4 separate regions of the Homo sapiens genome follow, and regions 1, 2 and 4 are each linked to region 3. The links are contacts of gene promoters, found by promoter capture Hi-C in blood cells and fetal thymus (Javierre and others, 2016). All regions are on one chromosome and are shown on one strand. The core of a region is centred on a gene start or on the middle of the fragment in contact, and the rest is flanking DNA. Distances in the headings are between cores, read along the strand shown. Region 1 overlaps VASH2 (vasohibin 2). Region 2 overlaps ANGEL2 (angel homolog 2). Region 3 holds the start of BATF3 (basic leucine zipper ATF-like transcription factor 3). Region 4 holds the start of RPS6KC1 (ribosomal protein S6 kinase C1).

Region 1 (5,682 bases), core at 1,911-4,410, 280 kb after region 3:
TAGTGATTTTCTGGTTTTGCAGCCAGAGTGACCACGTGAAACATTCTTCTCAATGGAGGCCAGTGTTCCTGAGGACCCATGAGAACCTCTTCATCTTCTCTCCCCTGTGTGGCTGCTTTTTTCCTGCTGTCTCTCCTCCTGTTTTCTTTGCTGGTCACCTTTCTTTGCCTCCCCTTTTCTTCCTCTTTGATTTCCCTTCTTCATCACTGATCTCTGTGGCAGTTCATGGCTCCAGCGGGCTCTGTCTGCCCTGCTGGACACCCTGGGGGTCCCAGAGGTTAGTAAGCCCTGAAAGCCCATCTCCTTTCACTGCAGGGCCTTGAGCTGGACAATGGAATTCCTGCTGCATTCTGTCAGGAAGGATTACGTATGTCCAGACATCTGGTTGAGTAAGGGCAGAAGTTGTTTAATGAAGTCATTGAAAATAAATTTGATTCCATGGTCTAATCACATTGACTGGTGCCCAAGAAGTAATTCTCCTTAGATCCCAAATGAGAAATATCCCCAGTGAGAAAAGGAGATTTCCTTAGGGTGGAAAGTAGAGGGAAGCAAACAAACAAAAAAGAACACTAGGAAGGCTACGAAGGGAAAAGCTAAACCGCCAAGATGGTGAAGGGGCAGTTTCTACTCCAGTGACTGCCTGGTCAGTTCCCCCAGGGAAATTCATATGGCCCAGAGTCTCCAGGGATGCTTGGAGAAACCAAGATGGAATGATGGGCCTCATCAGAAAAGACCACCTCAGGCAGAGTGAGCCAGGAGCCTCTGTGAGCTCCCCAGGGTCACATAGGGTCAGACAGGGGCAGACAGGGTGAGGTTTCCTAGAGCTGAGGGGTTCTTGTCCCGGAAAGGAGAAGTGACATCAGAGCCTGGAAACTGTGCCCTGGAATCTCCAACAGTTGGCCTATGGCCAGAGTCTCCTGCCTGGGGAGGGCTCAAAGGGATGGGCACCGGCTGAAAAATCTCTTCTGGGCCGAATCCGTCTTGGCTGAGGCCTCTGTTTACATAGCAACATCAGCTGTCTGCCCTGGCAGCTGCCAGCACCGGTGCTTTCCATCAGGGGAAGCAAGGAATGTGAGGGAGGAGCGGACTGGCCTGGAATGAAGGTGACAGGTGTGAATGAAGCTTCCCTTTCCCTGTGTCCGTCCAGCTGAGGCCATGCTCTGCCTCTGCGGCCTACCCAGACCGGCCGTGAATCCTAAATCGGGGCCTGGTCTGACCTGATTCTGGCCAGACTCCACAAGAAGGGTGGCCCTGGGGTCTTTGCTTAAACTTGTAAATGCTGGGCCAAGAGCACCCCTGGTTTAATCTCTTCCACATTCTTAACATCCGGGATTAAGAGTCTAACGTTTACAGTGGCACTTTTCCCACACTTCCCTTCCTGGACTCCCGAGCCTGCAGGCTGTACCGCCAGTCTGGCCTTTGTGTTTCTGTGTGAGGGTGAGCACCTGCCGGCACACGTACCCAGACATGGCCCTCAGTCAGAGGTGCGGAAGAGAGACTGGGTGGTTGAGGGAACCCTGTGAACTTCCTCTCCTCGTCCTGTTTCTTTTCTTAAACCTCATCTCTCCCAGATACACCCCTATGCATGTTCAGCCTTGGGATGTGGTCATGTCTCCACTCCATCACTTTCTGGTTCTGAGGCTTCTTGTGGCTGCACAGATGGCACCATCTGGTCAGGCCGAGCTCCTCCTCTGCACTGAGGCTGCCTCAGAGTGTGAAGGACTTGGTGTGCAGCTGTCAAAGTTGAGATAGCAGTGGCAGAGAGTAGTAGGATTTTTGACAGAATAACTTCTCTGTGGAACCACCACCCTGTTCTCCCTAGCCTACCTCCTGCTTTGAGCACCCTCCGTCCAGCTGGCTCCGGGAATGCAGACCTGTCATTGGGGTTAAGTGTAGCCTTGGGGCCAGGCCATCAAGCTTTCACCCTAGTTCACTCTGAGTCCATTTACGTCACAACAGGTGAGGCTGGGACTGTCTGTGCATGTGGATATCCTTTCTCCTGCAAAGTGAGTCAAAGTAAAGTTTTCTACTCTTTTTCCCCTAAAACAAAATGTTGCCGGAGAACCTTGAAAAAAGAAAATTCTTTCATTTCTTTGCCTTGTTTGGAGGAGGATGGCAGGGAGGTGGGGTTGGAGAAATATATTAGTCTAAAATAATAACCCTGGATCCGATGAGAGGTTCTGGGCAAGTGCAGACCCGGCTGAATCATCATCCTAGTGCTCGTGTTTCTTAAAAATAAACCCCCTTGCAATATTCTAATTAGAGCTGGGGGAGCACTTGGAAGAGTCCTCTCTATACACAATAGCTCACCCAGCTCTGGCCCTGAGATGAGCTGGCAAGGACTGAATGACATTTCTGGCTGGGCCCCACAGGCAGGTGGCATGCTGTGATAACCTACTTCTGCCCTATGCCAGCCAAGGAGATTGCAGCCACGGTTGCTGTAAAAGAAAAGGATTTCATCTTCTGGGCAGTTCACCAGGAATCTCAGTTTAGCTCATTTTCTGTCAGTATTAGCCCTTTTCTTCTCCTGGGTTCTGGGTACTTAGTGGAAGGTGGCAGGGGTGGGGATACAGAAGAAGAAGATGACCTAGTCCCTTTCCTTTGGAAGCACTCAAGCTGTTGATGCATTCAGCTTAATGAGTAGGCAGGTTCCCCACATGGCTTTCAGGGGTAAAGCAAACCCACTCCAATACGGAAAATAAATGTTCTTCCTGCTTGTTAATTCTGAAAATGTTGTCATGGTAACTTGAATTCCTGGCTTAGGACTTTGTCTCTAAAATAAAATATCCCATGATAAAGGTAACAGATGATTCACTATCATCCATTTACATGTTAGTGAGAATTTGATTGATAAGTACGTATTCCACAGTGGGATTCATAGATGAATTTCCCTGGTCCCTCCTTTCAAATTGTTCACAGTCTCTGAGGCAGGTGTAATGATTATGAATTGGCAGGATTCTGGAACAGATGTTGTCTTAGTCCATTTTGTGTCGCTGTAACAGAATACCTGAGACTGAGTCCTTTATAATGAACAGGAAATGTATTGGCCCATGGTTCTGGATGCTGAGAAACCCAAGATCAAGTGGCTGACATCTGGTGAGAGCCTTCTTGTTGCACTGTCCCATGACAGAGGGCAAAGAGAGGGAGAGAGGAAAGAAAGAGAGCAAGCACAAGTGTGCAAAGGGGCCAAAGTCATCCTTTTATAAGAACCCACTTTTGAGAAAATACTAATCTATTCATGAGGGTGATGCCCCCGGATCCACACACCTCCCACTAAGCCCTGCCTCCCAACCCCACTGCACCGAGGATCGAGTTTCCAAACCCATGAACTTTTGGGGACACATTTAAGCCATAGCAAATGTACCAAAGAAAATGCCAGAGCATACAGAGCAAGTAGTGGATTGTGATGGTAGGGAGTCAGAAAATACTTCCTGAGGTTAGTGACATTTGGGATTGCCTTCTAAGGATGTGGAGATGTTGGGGAGAGCATTCTAGACAGGAGACAGCATAAGCCAAGGTGCAGAGGCAGGAGTGGCCATGGTGTCCTTCTCAGATGCTTGGAAAGATGCTTTGAGGTGGCAGAGGAAGGGTGAAGTTTGCATTGTGGTTCAGGGTGTGGGCTCTAGATTCTGGGGACCAACTCTGGCTCCAACACTTGCTAACTGCATGACTTTGCTTTGAGCAAATTCCCTACCTTTCAGTACCTCCATTATCTCCTCTATAAAATGGACAGTACCAGTATCAACCCCGTGGGTTATGGTGAGGATTAATTAATCCACGGAAACCTCTTAGAATGATGCCTGGCACATCGTTAAGTGTCTAATAAATAAAAGCTATTTATAATGGTGATTTCCTGGTACCTGGAAGGCATGGGAAAACTGGTGCAAGTGCGAGGGAAAAGACTAAGAAAAGGAGTTCAAAGGTTCCCAAATTAAATTTCATCTATTTTCAAATGTGCCAATAGCAGAACACAGGTAATGGTAAAGAGTGAAGTTTAAGAAACACACAAACTACAAAAAATTTATGGGCTGAGGGGCTCCAAAGTGAGGAATTAAGGTGAGTGGCCAAAAAGTGGCTTCTCGAGGAGGTGGCAGGCCTGTGGCTAGTTAGCTGCAGTGATCCCAGTGAGCCTCCATGACAGGGATGAGCGGGTGGGCTTTGTTTTCTCCCTGAGCCTACCCTGTAGGCTGTTCTGGCCACTGACTTTCTAGGAGAGACTGTCGGGCACAGGACTGAGGGAGAGATAACAGGTCAGTGCAGATCTAGTCCAACAACTTGAAAATACTGTGAAGCTAGTGTCTTATTTTCTTATATGAAGGGCAGCATATTTAGAGTTTCAGAAGGAGGAGAGGTGTGACTTGGTGTTGAGGAAGATGCCAGGCCAGGAAGGCAACATATGTAAGAAAGCTTCAGAAACTCGGATGAGCTAACTGGTAGGTCCTACAAGGACCATGGAACAAGACAGTCTCTTGTTAAGCACATGCACTGCTTAATTTTCAGAGACAACAGGAGATCTAAAGAGCTACCATGGCTTAGGTCCTACATAGTTTGCAGGGTTACAGGGAAGAAGACTGACTCCTAGAAGTGAGTATGACTCCTGACTTCATTTGGACTATGGCCATTCCTCCCGAGTTAGAACTTGCTAGGAGCATGTTCTCCATACTCCACACAGTAACCTTCCTCAGGTTGACTTAGCACCCACTGTTAGTGGATCAGGTTTGGCTAAGGTTAGGTGTAAGCTGTAGCTTAAACATAATTCACTTTTTTTTTCTTTTTTGAGATAGGGTCTTGCTTTGTTGCCCAGGCTGGAATGCAGTTGTGCAATCTCAGCTCACCGCAACCTCCACCTCCTAGGTTCAAGCGATCCTCCCATCTCAGCCTTCCAAGTAGCTGGGACTACAGGCGCATGTCACCATGTCTGGCTAATTTTTTTTGCTTTTTTTTTTTTTTTTTTTTTTTGTAGAGATGGGGTTTCACCGTGGTGCCCAGGCTGGTCTGAAACTCCTGGGTTCAAGTGATCCTCTCTTCTCAGCCTCCCAAAGTGCTGGGACTATAAGCATGACCCAGCGCACCCAGCCATGATTCACTTTTATGTAAAAGCAGCTCAACAGAGGTGGAAATGGGCTTCCTGCTGCGCTGCCATCTTTAGAGACCATCTTTTTTTTTTTTTTTTCTGAGACAGAATCTCACTCTGTTGCCCAGGCTGGAGTGCAGTGGCACGATCTTGGCTCACTGCAACCTCCGCTTCCCAGGTTCCAGTGATTCTGCCTCAGCCTCCCAAGTAGCTGGGACTACAGGAATGCGCCATCATACCCGGCTGTTTTTTGTGTTTTTAGTAGAGACAGGGTTTCACCATGTTGGTCAGGCTGGTCTCAAACTCCTGATCTCAAATGATCCACCCACCTCAGCCTCCCAAAGTGCTTGGATTACAGGCCTAAGCCACTGTGCCCAGCCCTAGAGACCATCTTGAGGTCCCCACTCCAGCCGTCGCTTCCATGTTCCCATCAGCAGGAAGAACAAAGGAAAGAAAAAGATGAAGGGCACATACCAGTTGTCTTTTGAAGACGTGTCCTACTAACTGCCACACCACACTTCCATGTAAATCTCACTGGCTACAACTTAGTCTGAGGCCATGCGTGGGTACAGGGAGGCTGGAAGATGTACTTTGTATTCAAGGCAGCT
Region 2 (5,814 bases), core at 1,328-3,827, 300 kb after region 3:
GAAGTGTTTAGAATCCGAGTTTTTGTAACTTCAAGAATTCCTCCTATCTGAATTTCTTTTTCACTTAATTTCTAGACTAAGACCAAACATTAGGACAAGCTTTATTTAAAAAGACCATATCATAATTTAGTATTAATTTACTTATGCAGTGATATCTAAAACCCATCAATAAAGCCATTATAAATGTGGTTTTTAAAAAAAGCTCAATAATTAACATACTAATGTGTTTTTTCATTATTTATAACGTGTGAATGCCTCCACTTACTAAAGAACATGTATTCTAACAAGTTTTATTGTGTTTTTAAGAAAGAGAATCAAGGGGGTCTTCAGGAACACTATTTGGAATCCTCTAGACTTTTGATGACAGAGAGGCCATATTCTTCTCTAATTTTTCTTGCTATCACATATAATTTTGTACTGCATCTTAAAACAGCTTCTCTAATGGTTTATTATATTTGCCCCATGCACAAATATATGTGATGTTATGAGTAAAAGGTTTAAAGACTATTTTCTAGTGATACTTTATGAATCTTAAGGATCTTTTATGCCTTGAAGGAAAATAAAATTAAAAAAGAAACTTATCCAACAAACATTTACCAAACATCTTCTAAGTTCTAGGCAATATGTCAGGTGCTGAGAATACATAGATGAAGATGTTTCCCTTGCTTTTAAAGTGTTCATATGTCAGGAACAAAGGTAAATCCTTAAAAATGCCCTCTAAGTTTTATTAGCAACTTTTTATGTCTAAGGATTTATAATATTAAACATAAAATAGGGCCGGACGCGGTGGCTCACACCTGTAATCCCAGCACTTTGGGAAGCCAAGGCGGGAAGATTGCTTGAGCTCAGGAGCTCGAGACCAGCCTGGGCAACACAGTGAGACCTCATCTCTACAAAAAAAAAAAAAAAATCTAGAAAAGTAGCTACGCGTGGAGGCACATGCCTGTGGTCTCAGCTACTTGGCAGACTAAGGTAGGAGAAAGGCTTGAGCCTGGGAGGTGGAGGCTGCAGTGAGCCAAGATCATGCCACTGCACTCTAGCCTGGATGACAGTGAGATCAACTCTCAAATAAAAATAATAAATAAAAATAGGTCTTCTGCAAACTCTTATCTATCAATTTTTCAGTTTACAGATATAAGCTATGCATATAAACACTCTGTATTTACATAAAGATACAAAAAAGTATCTTTTTTTTTTTTTTTTTTTGAGACAGAGTCTTGCTCTGTCGCCCAGGCTGGAGTGCAGTGGCATGATCTCAGCTCACTGCAACCTCCACCTCCCAGGTTCACACCATTCTCCTGCCTCAGCCTCCCGAGTAGCTGGGACTACAGGCGCCCACCACCACACCTAGCTAATTTTTTTTTTTGTATCTTTAGTAGAGACGCGGTTTCACCGTGTTAGCCAGGATGGTCTCAATCTCCTGACCTCATGATCCGCCCGCCTCAGCCTCCTAAAGTGCTGGGATTACAGGCGTGAGCCACCGCGCCCGGCCTCTTTTTTTCTTTTAATTTTTAGACACCAAGGGCAAGTAAGGTATCTATTTTTTAAAATTATTATCATTATTGAGACGGAGGCTTGCTTTGTCACCCAGGCTGGAATGCGGTGGTGCGATCTCGGCTCACTGCAACCTCTGCCCCCCAGGGTTCAAGCAATACTCTGCCTCAGCCTACCTGGGATTACACGTGCATGCCACCATGCCCGGCTAATTTTTTGTATTTTTAGTAAAGATGGGGTTTCACCATCTTGGCCAGACTGCTCTTGAACTCCTGACCTCGTGATCCACCCACCTCAGCCTCCCAAAGTGCCGAGATTACAGGCACGAGCCACCACGCCCGGCCAGAATGTTTTAATTTTTTTTTTAATAGAGGCAGGGTCTCACTGTGTTGCCCAGGCTGGTTTCAAACTCCTGGGCTCAAGCAATCCTCCCGCCCTGGCCTCCCAAAGTGCTGAGATTATAGGCGTGAGCCAACACGCCCAGCCAATATCTTTTTTATATCCTATATTGTTACAAAAAGATTTAAGAGTTACTCAAAACGAAGTACTTGTTAGATTAGCCTCCTTATTAATCTTATTCAAAGAAGTTTTTACTATATTGAAAGGTTTAATCATGAATTTTAAAATATTCATTTAAAAAATTTTTTTAAAAATTGCTTCCATTCTTACTAGTTCTTATTTATGTAGTAATATTTTCTCAAAACAAGGTATACAAAATAAAGATTGAGAAGCAGATAAAATAAATGAGAATTGGTCCCTAAATTTAAATGTTAAAACAAAAAACTATAAAACAGCCACAATATAATTAACAATCAAGATATTTCAAGAATCTCCCTGAGACAAGATTTAAGTCTCTGTCCTGTTTTATTAACATGTATCAATTTCTCAACCATAGCCCCAAATATTCCTATTTCTTTAATGAAGAATTCCAGCATCTTCACCCCTCTGACAATCTTCTCCTACAGTTCAAGAGATAAATTAAAATGATCATCTTTTCAACTGGCATATTCATTTTTGGATCAATTCTCTTATAGATGGTTTTGAGATTTAGTAAATCAAAGACAACTAAAGATCCTTTTGAGATCTGAAAGATATTTTTATGTGATCTTGACCTTTGTTTAAGTATGTGAATTTCAAAGAGTATTTGAGCTGGTCCAGGTCCACAGACAAGCTGTTTCCCTTCCTAACACTACCTAGGTGCCTAGGTATGTTTCAGACATTGTGCTTTATATGCTTTGTCTCATCTAATCCTCACAACAATCCAAACTATAGACAAAGAAACTGAACCTCAGAGATGTTAAGTTTCTTGCTCAAAATCATTCGGCTAAAACACAGCAGAGTCAGGACTGGAACTCAGGCCTATCTGACTTAAGGGCCAGCACCCTTCACCAGCACGGAATACTATCACCTTCATTTTTTTATCCAAGTGATTTTTGAGAAATGAGTTTTTTATTCAACTAAAGTTAGCAAATGTCTCCTTTTGCTTTCCAGAACTCACTTTTCAGCTGTCACTAGGACCTCTGTTTGCTTCAGCTGTGTTTGTGTCAGATCACTGTCTGTAAGAATAGAGGAAAATATATTAATGTTATTGTTCTAGTTTGCCTTAATATCGTCATCTTACTCTAGAAACAATATTTAAGACTTATCTAGGTTAGAAAGATGCCTAGTTACATGTTTCATTCTGGAATCTATATATTTCGATGGCCTCCAGAATTAGGAAAAATAGAAAAATGCAAACAATTCCAAAGCAACATGCAAGTAAATCATGCACAGATAATTCTGGAAGTTCAACTTTAAAAAGGTAAATTTAGAGGTCTTAAGAAAAAAAATGAATAACTACATATTTATATATATGAATATTCATCCCTGAGATTTTTTCTTTTTAAAAACTTAGTTTTATGTCTTCAAAGGGAACATGATTACCCAGCAGACTGCCAAAATGTATTACAAACACTTACCTGTCTTTTCTACTTTTGGTACCTGCTGTACCTCATACACACAGTTCTGTGAGATACCTAGGTTTGGGGGCCAAATTGGAATAGATAAAATTCTTTGTCCCCGTGAAGACTGTTCCTGGCCAGATACCTAAACAAAATTTCAACAGGTATCTTAAGTGAAAAGATTTTAAATAGCTTATGAGTTGAAAAATTTATGTCTTAAATAAAAGGTAATCCAAAAGTGGTAAATTATTACCCTTTATTCATTGTATTAAGTGATTCTTTGGACTTATAAAATCTTCTTTTCTTTAAATACAATTCAGAAAGCACTTATCATTTACATAAAAATGACAATCTTTTTCCCATACATGCTTTTCTTTAATTTGGACATACAAATCATCTATCGCTTTGAACTAACACTATTCATCATTTTTTACTACCTGCAATATAGTTCCTATTGTATCAAATATAGGCATGCTCACAGGTACTGCGGGTTTGGTTTCAGGCCACCACAATAAAGTGAGTATCTCAATAAAGCAAGTCACATAATTTTTTCAGTTTCCCAGTGCATGTAAGTTGCGTTTATACTATACTGTAGTTTACTAAGTGTGCAATAGCATTATGCCTAAGAAAATACATACCTTAATTTAAAAATACTTCATTGTTAAAATATCCTAACAATCATCTCAGCCTTCAGTGAGTCATCATCTTTTTACAGGTGGAGGATCTTGCCTAGATATTAATGACTGCTGGCTGATCAGGGTGATGGTTGCTTAAAGTGGGGGTTGGCTGTGGCAATTTCTTAAAATAAGACAACAATGAAATTTGCTGCAGCCATTGATGCTTCCTTTCATAAAAGATTTTTCTGTAGCATCTGATGCTATTTGACAGCACTTTATCCACGGAACTTTTTTTCAAAATTGGAAACCCTTCCAATGTTTTATCAATTAAATTTATGTAACATTTAAAATCCTTTGTTGTAATTTCAGCAATGTTCACAGCATCTTCACCAGGAATAGAATGCATCTCAAGAAAATACTCTGCTCATCTATAAGAAGCAACTCCTCATCTATTTAAGTTTTATCATGAGATTGAAACAATTCAGTTAATTCTTCAGGCTCCACTTCTAGTTCTCTTGCTATTTCCACCACATCTACAGTTACTTCCTCCCCTGAAGTCTTGAACCCCTCAAAGTCATCCATGAGGGCTGGAATCAACTTCTACCAAACTCTTTTTAATGGTGATATTTTGACCTCCTCCCATGAATCACGAATGTTCTGAATAGCATTTAGGATGCTGAATCCTTTGCAGGTTTGCAATTTACTTTCCCCAGATCCATCAGAGAAATCACTTCTATGGCAGCTATAGCCTATGAAATGTATTTCTTAAATAAGGAGACCTGTAGGTACAAAATTACTCCTTGATTCCATAGGCTGCAGAATGGATGCCGTGTTAGCAGGGATGAAAAAACATTCATTTCCTTGTACATCTTCATCAGAGCTCTTGGGTGACCAGGTGCCTTGTGAACGAACAGTAATCTTTGGAAAGGAATCTGTTTTTCTGAATAGTGGTCTCAGCAGTGTGCTTAAAATATTCTATGCCATAAACAGATGCACTGTCATCCCCAAGCTTTGTTTTTCCACTGACATAGCACAGGTAGAGTGGATTTAGCATAATTTTTAAGTGCCCTAGGATTTTCAGAATGGTCAATGAATGCTGACTTTAACTTAAAGTAACAAGCTATATTAGCTCCTAACAAAAGAGTCAGCCTGTCCTTTGAAACCAGGCACTGACTTCTTCTTTCTAGTTATGAAGTCCTAGATGGCATCTTCTTGCAATATAAAGTGGTTTCATCCACATTAAAAATTGTTGGCCAGGTGCGGTGGCTCATGCCTGTAATCCCAACACTTTGAGGGGCTGAGGCAGGAGGATTGCTCAAGCCCAGGAGTTCGAGACCAGCCTGGGCAACATGGTGAAACGCCACCTCTACCAAAAAATATTAAAAAATTAGCCCGGCGTGGAGGCATGCACCTGTAATCCCACCTACTTGGGAAGCTGAAGCAGAATCGCTGGAACCCAGGAGGCAGAGGTAGCAGTGAACCGAGATCGTGTCACTGCAGTCCAGCCTGGGCAACAGCGCGAGATCCTGTCTCAAAAAAAAAAAAAAAAAAATCTATTATTTAGTGTAGCCACCTTCATCAATGATCTTAGCTAGATCTTCTGGATAACCTACTGCAGCTTCTACATCAGCAGCACTTGCTGCTTTACCTGTACTTTTATGTTATGGAGATGGCTTCATTCTTTAAACCTCATAAATTAACCTCTGTTAACTTCCAACTTCTCTTCTGCAGCTTCCTCATCTCTCAGCCTTCAAAAAATTGAA
Region 3 (4,952 bases), core at 1,036-3,535:
TGATACTGCATGCAAATCATGATTACACTTACAACTAATTGCAGCCACATAACTCTACCAACACACCAAATGATCTTAAACCCCACTGACAGTGTACTCATTTGAACAATGCTTGGCTGACATTTTGTTTCAGAAGTCAGCAAATTTTTTATGTGTCTTGAAAGCTGTTAGCTATATGTAAGATTTAACCAAATTCAGTCAAATCCCTCAATAGTGATCATGAAACAGGCAGGCGGAAAAATGCACTGACCATGGTAAAAACACTTCAATCAGCTATAGAAAACATGAAAAAGGAGAGCAGTATTTGCTTTCTAGAACCCCATGAGAAGACACCACCAAGCGGGAAAAATACCACACTTACAGAGTTTAAGAGCCAAGAGGTACAAACAAGGAAAACTACTCAGTTATTAATATTCACGGAATGCAAATATTAATAACACAAAAAAGGATATTTTCAGTTATCATTTGATCTCATCTTGTATTCCACATAAGACACACATCTTCCCAAGTTACTGCAGGTAAGAAGTTTCAGATATGCAAGAATATAAAGGCATAAAAAGGAGAGGAATAAATAACATACATAGCAAATAGAAGCTTAAGGGAACAAAGTATGATAATACAGTCTTCTAGAGAGGCAAAGAAGTCTTGATAAACAAAACCAGAACATTACAGGGGAACATGTGGTTAGAAGACAGCTCTTTAGCTTTAGAATCACACAGATCCTAGTTTTGTCTCTTAGTGTCAACATGGTCTTGTGTAAATGGTTTAAATTCTCTAAATTTTCAGTTTTCTCATTTATTGTAAGCATAATTCATTCATTCTTTCAATATGTATTAACTGAGCACCTACCATGTGCCAGACACTGTTCTAGACACTGGGGATACAAGCCCTAAACAAAGGGTCAGTGAACTCTGCAGACTTGGTGCTAACAGCCTAATGCTTAGGATTGGGATGCGATGAAATGAGATTTTGTCCTAAAGCTCCCAGCATACAGTATGCCCTCAAGAAGTTACCTGCCTTTGTTGAAGTTGCTACTTTAAAAAAAAATGTATTCTGCATAGTGCTTCTCATGCCTCTTTGCTCTCTGTAATCAAAAAGTCACTAGCACAAGAAAGCAGCCTGCATACTGCCCTCGGGGAGCTGACTCTAAACTGGACTCATCACCATGATCACACCTGCCAACCCAGCAGAAACATTTAATCAAGACAGAAAGAGGTGAGCGAAAGTTAGAGATAGTATTATGTTATTAACCATATCTGATTCAGTCTCAAAAATCCTGAGAGGTTGATGTTACTATATTCATTTTACAGATGGGGAAATGGACGGTCCGAGAGGTTAAACAAATTGCTCAAGGCTGCTCAGCCTGTGTGTGGCAAAGCCCAGGCCCAAACTCAGATCTCTGTGACACTCCAGCGACACCTGATGACATGGGCCGGGCGCTGAATTGGGAAGGTGGGGAGTAAGGATGAAAAGACCCAGTCTTCGTCGTAAGGCAGGTGGCCAAGACCCAGGCAAAGTTTCCAGACGGCCGTCCCTGTGGCCAACCTGGTCTCCTTCCTGACTGCGCCGCTGTAAACGTTGCTAGGGGACAGCGAACTGGGAAGGGGCAAAGGGTTTCCACCAGCTGGGGGCGGAGTCGGCCCTTTGTGGGTTCCCTCCGCCCAGGCTGACTAGTCCGGCGTTCTCCATTCCCGCGGCAGCACCCCCCCCACCCGGGGGAATCCTGGAGGGGCTACAGGCGCGGGTGGTGGGGTGGCAGTCGCTGGCTGCGCCAGGATGGGGCGGCCCTCAGGGCAGTGCGGAGCCCACGTGCCGGGGAGCACCGGCCATGCCCGGCCCAGCCAGGCGTCGGCGCCCTCGGGCTTCTTCCCCCAGAGGGCGCAGGAGCTGGCTCAGGAGCCATTCCAGGAGCCGCGGACACTGTGCGCACGACAGGGTCCCTGGATCGCCCCCATTCCCCAACATCCCTACGCCCCTACCTCTGCTTGTCTCCGGCCGCACCCGCCACCTCTGCACCTCCGCAGTCACCACCACGGAACTCCAGCACCCACCTCCTCGCCCCCCGCGGCGCGCCGGTCCCCGCACCCCACGGCCCTCCCTGAGCCTCTCGCCCTCTACCTGCTGCTGCGGCTGCGGCTGCGGCTGGTTCCCGGGCGCCGCGACGCTCCTCTGCAGGACGCTGCCGGCGGCCGGGAGCCCTTGCGACATGCCGGGCGCTCCTCTGGCCCGGCCCGCCCCGCCCCGCCCGCGCGCCCTGCCCGTGGGGCTGCCTACGGGCGCTGTCCCGCCGCCGGCATCCTCGTGCCGCACCCACGGCCTCGCGCCGGCCCCGCCCCCTCAGGCTTCCCGCTCTCCCCGCTACTCCACGCGTCGGCCCAGTGTCCCCGCGCGCCAGTCCCGGCAGCCGTCCTTCCCGTCCCACGTCTGCCCCGCCCTCCTTCTCCCACCCCCGCCTCGTTTCCTCCTCTGCCCGCCCTCTCTCCGCACCTCGGGGTCCCAAATCCCACCCCTGCCGCGGCTTTCCGCCGGCGCCCCGCGCTTCGTGGAAGTCACGTGGTGGCTCTGAAACCCCGGAGGGAACGCGAAGCCCACCCACGCGAGGCGACGCCCGGGGGGGTGGGGACCAGGGGGGCGCCATGCAGCCTTTGGGGTCCTTCGGCGGCTGCCGGGGAACTCAGGTTGAGAAACACAGTGGGTGTTTTGGGGTCGGTGTTTTTTCCCGGTCCCATCGCGGCATCTTCCTGCGCCTCAGCCACGCCCTGCGTCCGCCCCCCGGCGCGGGGGTCACAGTCCCGGGGGACTTTCTCCGCGGCGATCAGTCATCCGGGCGCCACTCTCGCTCCTCCAGCGGCCCCGAAGCCGCGGCTCTGGGGTGAAGACGCCGGCTTCACCGAGTCCCACCGCGCACCCCGAGCCACGGGCGCCCCAGGGACTCTGCAGGGAGTGCCTGCCCTTCCCGTCTCGGGTCCGCCGGGCTGTGGGAGGGAACGAGGCGGGGCGGCCCCGAGGGTGAATTCCCGGAGCGGAGGGTGGGCATGGGGAGGATGTCCCGGACAAAAACGGTGACGGGCTTCCCTGAGAGCGAATCTGCCACGTGGGACGTCACTAGTGACAGGTTTGGGGATCTGGACCCGCCATGCCACGGTTAAACGGCCCAGATCATTTTTCTTTTTCAAGATTTATCTGCTCGTGCCAAGCTGGGGACCGGGTTGAGGTAGGGCAAGTCCCTGTCCACCTGCCTGCCAGTCAAAAGATGCGAAGCCAAGACAATTACCCGTGGTCCTAGCGAAGGAAACACTAGCGGCCACAGGCTGTGGTCTGCATGCTGTGAGCACCGGGAAAGATAACCGCGATTCGGGATGGGCGGGTGGGAACCAGACCAGAAGGGCAGAAGTGCCTACCAAGTGTGGTCGCTTGGGTCTTCAGGTTTGTGGGCAGCAGTGGGCATGGGGACAGTCATTTCCGATTCCTTTTTAAGTCTTAAATGAGTGCACGTGCCCCCCGCCAGGATTTAAGACCCACTCTTGCAAAAGCTTTGAGAGAGCTTGAGTGAACTTGGCTGCCTGGAGGCCAGCGGGAAAGCGAGCGGAGATTCTTGTCTGTGTGATCAGAAGCTTCGGCCAACTGAGAGGCGGGGAGGAAGACGGAGGGTGGACGCAGCCCTTTAGAGTTGCAGCGCCACACTCCACAGCAGCAAGGCTGCGCAGCAGAGCCAGCGCTACGCTGGGTTATCTGCCCGGATTAATCTTTTCCTCTCCGTTATTTCATCACTCAGCTTAACTGGTGGTTGCCCCAGGACTATTTTGCATCCCACAAGGTACCCACACAAGGTGCCTAGCATAGCACGCTACATACACTCAACAGGTGCTCAGTATATGTATTGCACTAGGTCAGCTGAAAGCTCTCATTCCTGAAGCACTAAAAGGGCTCTAACGAGCTAGGAAAACATCTGGGTCAAGGGGTTATCATTTTCAGAAGTGATTTCATTCCCCAGTGTTTTTTATGCACAGAAAAGGCAAGGTAGAAACACCTCGGGAACATTCCCGTGCACTCCTACACTTTATTCTGGTCATGCCCACTTTTCTCACTGAACCACATCACATTTTAAGTCCTTTGGGGCTGCTGCTTCCCTGTCTCTCCCCAGGGAGCCTGAAACCATGTCCCAGCACACACGAACTCTTTATATAGGCATAGTCTACTGTCTTGTGTTACGCAAGGGTTTCTTCAAATACATTTAGTCTTGGTTAACTAGGTAGCATTTAGGGCAGAGATCAATTTGATGTAAAGATCATACATCAAAATGAATGGATTAAATAGCTAGATACAGAAATGAAAATCAGAGAGCTAAAGCAGAATTAAATTCTTATTTAAGTCATGGAAGCATAGGCAACATAGTGAGACCCCCAACTCTACCAAAAATTAAAAGAAATCAACTAGCTGAGTGTGGTGGTGCACACCTGTAGTCCCAGCTACTCAGGACGCTGAGGCAGGAGGATCACTTAAGCTCAGGAGTTTGAGGCTGCAATGAGCTATGATTGCACCACTGCACTCCAGCCTCCAGGGCAACAGAGCAAGACCTTATCTCAAATAAATAAAATAAAGTTGTGGAGATAAGATAAGGAAAGGATCTTATAAGAATACATGTAATAGGAGAAATTGACTTGATAAGATCTGAACTATATAAAAGGGCTAAATTGTTTTAGATGACAGTATAACCAGGAATGTAAAACAAACAGATTGGATAAATACAGTGCATATGAGAAAGGGTTAATATACAGCCCACGAAAAAGAAGAAGAAGAATATTGAGACAACCCGCAAAGGTAAATTGCAGAAGGGATATGAAATGGCATTTCCCAGCAGAAGAAATAATCAAGGAAAATAGGTATAGGAAAATATATATTAAAATAAGAACCCTTTTTAAGTTAGCAAAATAAAAAGTAATATCAAATGC
Region 4 (5,122 bases), core at 2,594-5,093, 350 kb after region 3:
TTTTGGAGTTCCCCCTAACAAAGAATCAGTTTTTGGTTTCATTGGTTTTTCTTTATTGCTTTTCTCTTTTTCTATTTCATTGTTTTTCTCTTTTTAAAAAAATTTCATTGAGTTATTACTCTTTTCTTTATGTTTTATTCCTTATTCTTGCTCTAGGGTTCAATATTTTTTTTTCTAGCTTCTTAAAGTAGAAGCTTAGTTCATGACCCTTCTTCTTGTCTACTATAAGCCATCAAGGTTATACATTTCCCTCTAAGCACTGCATTAGCTGTGTCCCACACATTATGATATGCTTCCATTTTCATTCAATTCCAAATATGTTTAAAAGTTTTTGTCACTTATTTTTGATCCAGGCATCTTTAAGAATTGTATTTACTTTCCAAATATTCATGAATTTTATGGGTAACTTTCTATTATTAACTTCTAGTTTAATTCCCTGAGGTCACAGAGCAAATCCAATTTATATTGGTTTTAAAAATTTTGTTAACATTTATTTATTTATTTATTGAGACGGAGTTTCGCTCTTGTTGCCCAGGCTGGAGTGCAATGGTGCGATCTCAGCCCACTGCAACCTCCGCCTCCCGGGTTCAAGTGATTCTCCTGCCTCAGCCTCCTGAGTAGCTGGGATTACAGGCATGTGCCACCATGCCTGGCTAATTTTGTATTTTTAGTAGAGACAGGGTTTTTCTACATTGGTCAGACTGGTCTCCAACTCCCAACCTCAGGCTATCTGCCCACCTTGGCCTCCCAAAGTGCTGAGATTACAGGCATAAGCCACTGCGCCCAGCCTGTTAACATTTATTTTATAGCCCAGGATATGGCCTGACTTGTTGAATGTTTTCTGTACACTTGAAACAAACATTTTCTGCTACTATTGAGTGGCGTGTTCTATAAATGTCTATCAGGTAGAGTTGGTTGATAGAGCTTTTCAGGTTTTCTGTATCCTTATTCATTTATTTGTTTACATGTTTTGTCAATTACCGAGAGAGGAGCGTTGAAATCTTTTTTGTTTTTTTTGAGACAGATTCTTGCTCTATTGCCCACGCTAGAGTGCAGTTGCATGATCTTGGCTCACTGCAACCTCCACCTCCCTGGTTCAAGTGATTCTTGTGCTTCAGCCTCCCAAGTGACTGGGGTTACAGGAATGTGCCACCACGCCGGCTAATTTTTGTATTTTTAGTAGAGATGAGGTTTTGCCATGTTGGCCAGGCTGGTCTTGAACTCCTGGCCTCAAGTGATCTACCCACTTCAGCCTTCTAAAGTGCTAGGATTACAGGCATGTGCCACCATGCCAGGCCTGAGTGTTGAAATTTTAACTATAATTGTGGATTTGTCTATTTCTTCTTTTAGTTCTAATCGTTTTTGCTTTTTACATTTTTAGTTTTGTTATTAGGTATATACACATTTAGAATTGCTCTGTCTTCTTTATGAATTGAATTCTTTAAGTTTTGTCCTTCTTTATTCCTGATCATATTTCTTTGTCTTAAGTATTTCTAGTAGTGTTTTCGTGGCACATGTTTTTCCACTTTTTAAATTTTTAATCAATAATATCTGGTAAATCAAAGAAACTCAGAGAACATGGAGAGGAAGTTGCTAAGGATGATATCAAATAGCTAACTAATGTAATTAAATGGAGAGTAAAACCAGTCATGGAGATAGAAATAGGTATATGAGGGGAAAAAATGTTGAGATTTTGATTTGTTCTGTTTCCAGTGTTAGATATATAATAAAGATGTAGGTAAAGTGAGTCAAGTCCTGGAAGAGAGATATGCTGGGAGATAGACATTTGCAAGTCAATGGGAATAAAGAACAAAGGATCAAAGGCAAAATCTTGAGAAACAAGAATACTAAAAGTTCTTGGAAGGAATAGAAACCAGCAAAGGAGACTGAAAAAAGAGCAAGTCATCTGAGTATAAAAGAGAAAAGAGAAATAATGCTGACTCATATGCTAAGAATATACAAAAGTTTTAAAAAGGTAGAAATGGTCAGAGACTTTCAAAATCCAGAAATATTGGGCAAATTGAGGTCACTGGAAACTGTTTTCAGAGCAGTTTCAGAGTAGCAATATAGAGGTGAAACCAGATTGAATTGGACATGGGAATAAATGGGTGATGATGCAATGTTGATGTAGATTACTTTAAAATCAACTTAAACAACTTTGACGGTGAGTGGAAGGAGAAAGAAAGGAAGAAAAGAAGGCAAAATGAATAATGCCCTTTACTCCCTTCTCTCCTGGCTAACTCCCATCTCTCTTCCAAGACTCAGTCTTCTATCAGAAAGCCTTAGGCGATCTTCCATCCTGAATTGATGTGCTCTTTAGTACTCCATATATACATTCACCATGGTACTTATCACAGTATATTTTGTGTCTTTATTTTTCCTACTAGATGGTACTTGAGAACAGGGACTATCTACCTTTTTTTTTTTTTTTTTTTTTTTGAGAGAAGTCTTGCTCTTGTCCCCCAGGCTGAAGTGCAATGGTGCGATCTTGGCTCACCGAAACCTCCACCTCCCGGGTTCAAACGACTCTTTTGCCTCAGCCTCCCAAGTAGCTGGGATTGCAGGCGCCTGCCACCACGCCTGGCTAATTTTTTGTATTTTTAGTAGAGACGGGGTTTCACCATGTTGGCCAGGCTGGTCTCGAACTCCTGACCTGAGGTAATCCGCCCGCCTCGGCCTCCCAAAGTGTTGGGATTACAGGCGTGAGCCACCGCGCCCGGTCGGAGAACAGGGACTATCTTTGTAACTCCAATGCCAAATTGGCATCATGTCTGGCACATAGTAGGTGGTGAATTCAGGTTTAATGAATGACTAATAGACTTAGATATATGTAGGTTGAAAAGAAGGAGCCAGTGGTGAGAAAGAGATTAAACATACAGAAAGGAGATTTGGAATGTCATTGAAACAGTGTCTTAAGGTTTGCCAAAGAGGATGGGATTCAGATCACATGTGGAGTCATTAGCTGTAAAAATGAGCAAGTGATATGTGTACGTTTCAGACTGGCATGGAAATGTGAGAAGACAAAGGAATTGGTACTAAGGGCCATAGCTGCTTCTTCCTCTTCTTTTTTCCCTGTAAAGAAGAGTGGTGGTGCGGAGAGTAGGGAGGCAAAAGGAAGAGGAACAGAGTCTTTAGGATAATGGCAAAGACTTGGCATGAATATTTTGTGGAATGAAAAGGAACCTTGATCACAAAAAGATAAAGGAACTGCCAAGCGTTGATAACAACCTCAGCTGAAATTGGAAACTGTAGTGAGTGACTCGGAGAGGTCGAGTGACATATTTCTTTCTTCTAGCCAGAGGCGGACTCCAGATTTTCGAACCTGTGGGGATTTTTAAAAGATTGATATTGGCTTGGGAGCTTTTTTGGGTTGGGGGCTTGCTGTGCAGATGTGTTACAGAAAGGCGCTCAATGGAAGGAAATTCGTCTTAGAAAGAAGTAAGGGATATGTCTCAGAGAATGAGATGTTGCTGTGGGTATTTAAAATGATAGGCTGTGAATAGGTAAGGAAAGAAGGTGCTAGGCTATGGTATCTCTCCATCCCTTCAACACTCCACTTAAGTTTGTACCACGGCGGGGCGGAGGCAGGGAGGACCACGCTCTCCCGGTGTGGCGTGGCTATACCAACTCTCATAAAATCTCATAAAAGGTGACGGAGCTAGCGTACAAGAGGTCGTCTTTAGTGGAGAGGCCTGAGGTCTCCGCAGTGACGGGGGTGGCAGCGCGACCCCTTAGTCTTCAACTACAGGCCAGTCCCAGGTGCCCCAAAGGGGCTAGAATCTAAGGAGGAGTCTCCCCTCCCCCTAGAAGCGGGAGATAGCCTGGCCCGGAAGCTTCTCTGCTGACCCGGAAGCAGAGCTGTGCAGCTGAGGCGCCGCCGTGGAGCCGCCTTGGAGCCACCGCCCCCTCGCCGCTTCGCCGCTGCGTTGGGGAACCTGGACCGCGGCGGCGCCGGGTTTCCCTCATGATCCCGGGCGGGTGGCGGCGGCGGCAGAGGCGGCGGGAGGATGACCTCTTACCGGGAGCGGAGTGCCGACCTGGCCCGTTTCTACACTGTCACCGAGCCCCAGCGACACCCGAGGGGCTACACAGTATATAAGGTCACCGCCCGGGTGAGTGCCGGTGTCGGGCTGGGGTAGAGCTTGGATTGGGACCTGAGGATCTGGGGTGGGGACCCTGATGTGAGGGTACCTGACTCTGGCTCAGAGCCGAGGGTGGGACTGGGTGCTGCTCCTACTGGCGGGACTTGGGTGTCGGAGGTTGGGATTTTTAGAGTAGTGGCTGAGTGTGATATGCCCAGGGCTTCACTGTAGTAGGTCGTGGTAGAGTCCTCTTTCTGGGGGTGGGGCAGTCAGTGGTTGATGGTTTTAAATTGATGACTCAGTTCCCATCCCGTTTGGACTTTCTCTTCTGAGTTCGCAATTTGCAGAAGTGGTTTTGCTTGCTCCAGGAAGATAATGCAGATTAAAAAGTGTTAATTTATGTATTGTTTGGCTTATGTAATATAAGTTGTTTTTTCTCTTGACCTTTATCAGGTTTGCTGTGAGAAAGACAGATTCTTGGGACAGATGTCAGTGTTAGGCCACCAACCTAGGAACTGTGGATCCGGGCTTTGTCAAACCTTTGAGTTTTTCATGTTTTTCAGTAGGAGACGTGAAAAAAATCTGCTGAGGGTGGCTTGTGTGAGCTACCATGAGGGCACATTTTAAAGTTGGGAGGCTCCTTTACATCAACTAACTGGTCCAATTTTTAGTACCCACTTTATGTTTCATTGCTTTTGCCTTGAGTTTTAAAGAGAGTCTGCATCTTCTAGGAAAGTAAGAATAAATCAAAATTAAATAAGTATATATGTATGTGACGTATGTGTGCATGAATATATGTGTATAGTAGGCATTTTATGCACATCACCCAATTTAATTCTCATTTTAATGAGGAAGAAATAGATTAAAGCAAGTTTAGTAACTTGCCCAACTTTACATTGCAAGGCAGTAGCAGATCTGTCTGGGATCTGAAACCAGTTTTGCCTAACTCCAAGTTATATAAAATGTTAATAATTAACTTTATCAATTTTTAAAGAAGAGAGGTACAGATTAAGTAACAGTAGTTCAATATACATTTGGAG

What was found. Contacts are between HindIII fragments. The CHiCAGO score rates a contact against its expected background, and 5 or more counts as called.
Region 1: a fragment that was not itself captured here is called in contact with the fragment with the promoter of BATF3 in region 3 in 5 of 17 cell types (erythroblasts, megakaryocytes, neutrophils and 2 more); the score reaches 7.7 in erythroblasts.
Region 2: a contact is called between a fragment that was not itself captured here and the fragment with the promoter of BATF3 in region 3, in 15 of 17 cell types (megakaryocytes, erythroblasts, total B cells and 12 more). The highest score is 13.1, in megakaryocytes.
Region 4: the fragment with the promoter of RPS6KC1 here is called in contact with the fragment with the promoter of BATF3 in region 3 in 1 of 17 cell types (total B cells); the score reaches 5.6 in total B cells.

What each region holds. Positions count from the first base shown.
Region 1 is chr1:212,980,263-212,985,944 of GRCh38, forward strand. All of the region lies in intron 7 of VASH2 (vasohibin 2), which reads left to right. Among named protein-coding and RNA genes, the nearest start is that of VASH2, 33 kb to the left of the region's middle. RefSeq lists enhancers at 1,250-1,469, 1,580-1,729. The HindIII fragment of the contact is 2,490 bases long and covers 1,916-4,405 here.
Region 2 is chr1:212,997,334-213,003,147 of GRCh38, forward strand. It overlaps ANGEL2 (angel homolog 2), which reads right to left. Exons shown (of 9, transcript NM_144567.5): 6 at 3,453-3,579; 7 at 2,993-3,050. Among named protein-coding and RNA genes, the nearest start is that of ANGEL2, 16 kb to the right of the region's middle. The HindIII fragment of the contact is 4,961 bases long and covers 98-5,058 here.
Region 3 is chr1:212,697,555-212,702,506 of GRCh38, forward strand. BATF3 (basic leucine zipper ATF-like transcription factor 3) reads right to left here and starts at 2,286. Exons shown (of 3, transcript NM_018664.3): 1 at 2,119-2,286. The coding sequence starts at 2,208. RefSeq lists silencers at 1,584-2,033, 2,224-2,303. The HindIII fragment of the contact is 2,939 bases long and covers 593-3,531 here.
Region 4 is chr1:213,047,398-213,052,519 of GRCh38, forward strand. It overlaps RPS6KC1 (ribosomal protein S6 kinase C1), which reads left to right and starts at 3,844. Exons shown (of 15, transcript NM_012424.6): 1 at 3,844-4,112. The coding sequence starts at 4,008. RefSeq lists a silencer at 3,973-4,072. The HindIII fragment of the contact is 5,380 bases long and covers 3,832-5,122 here.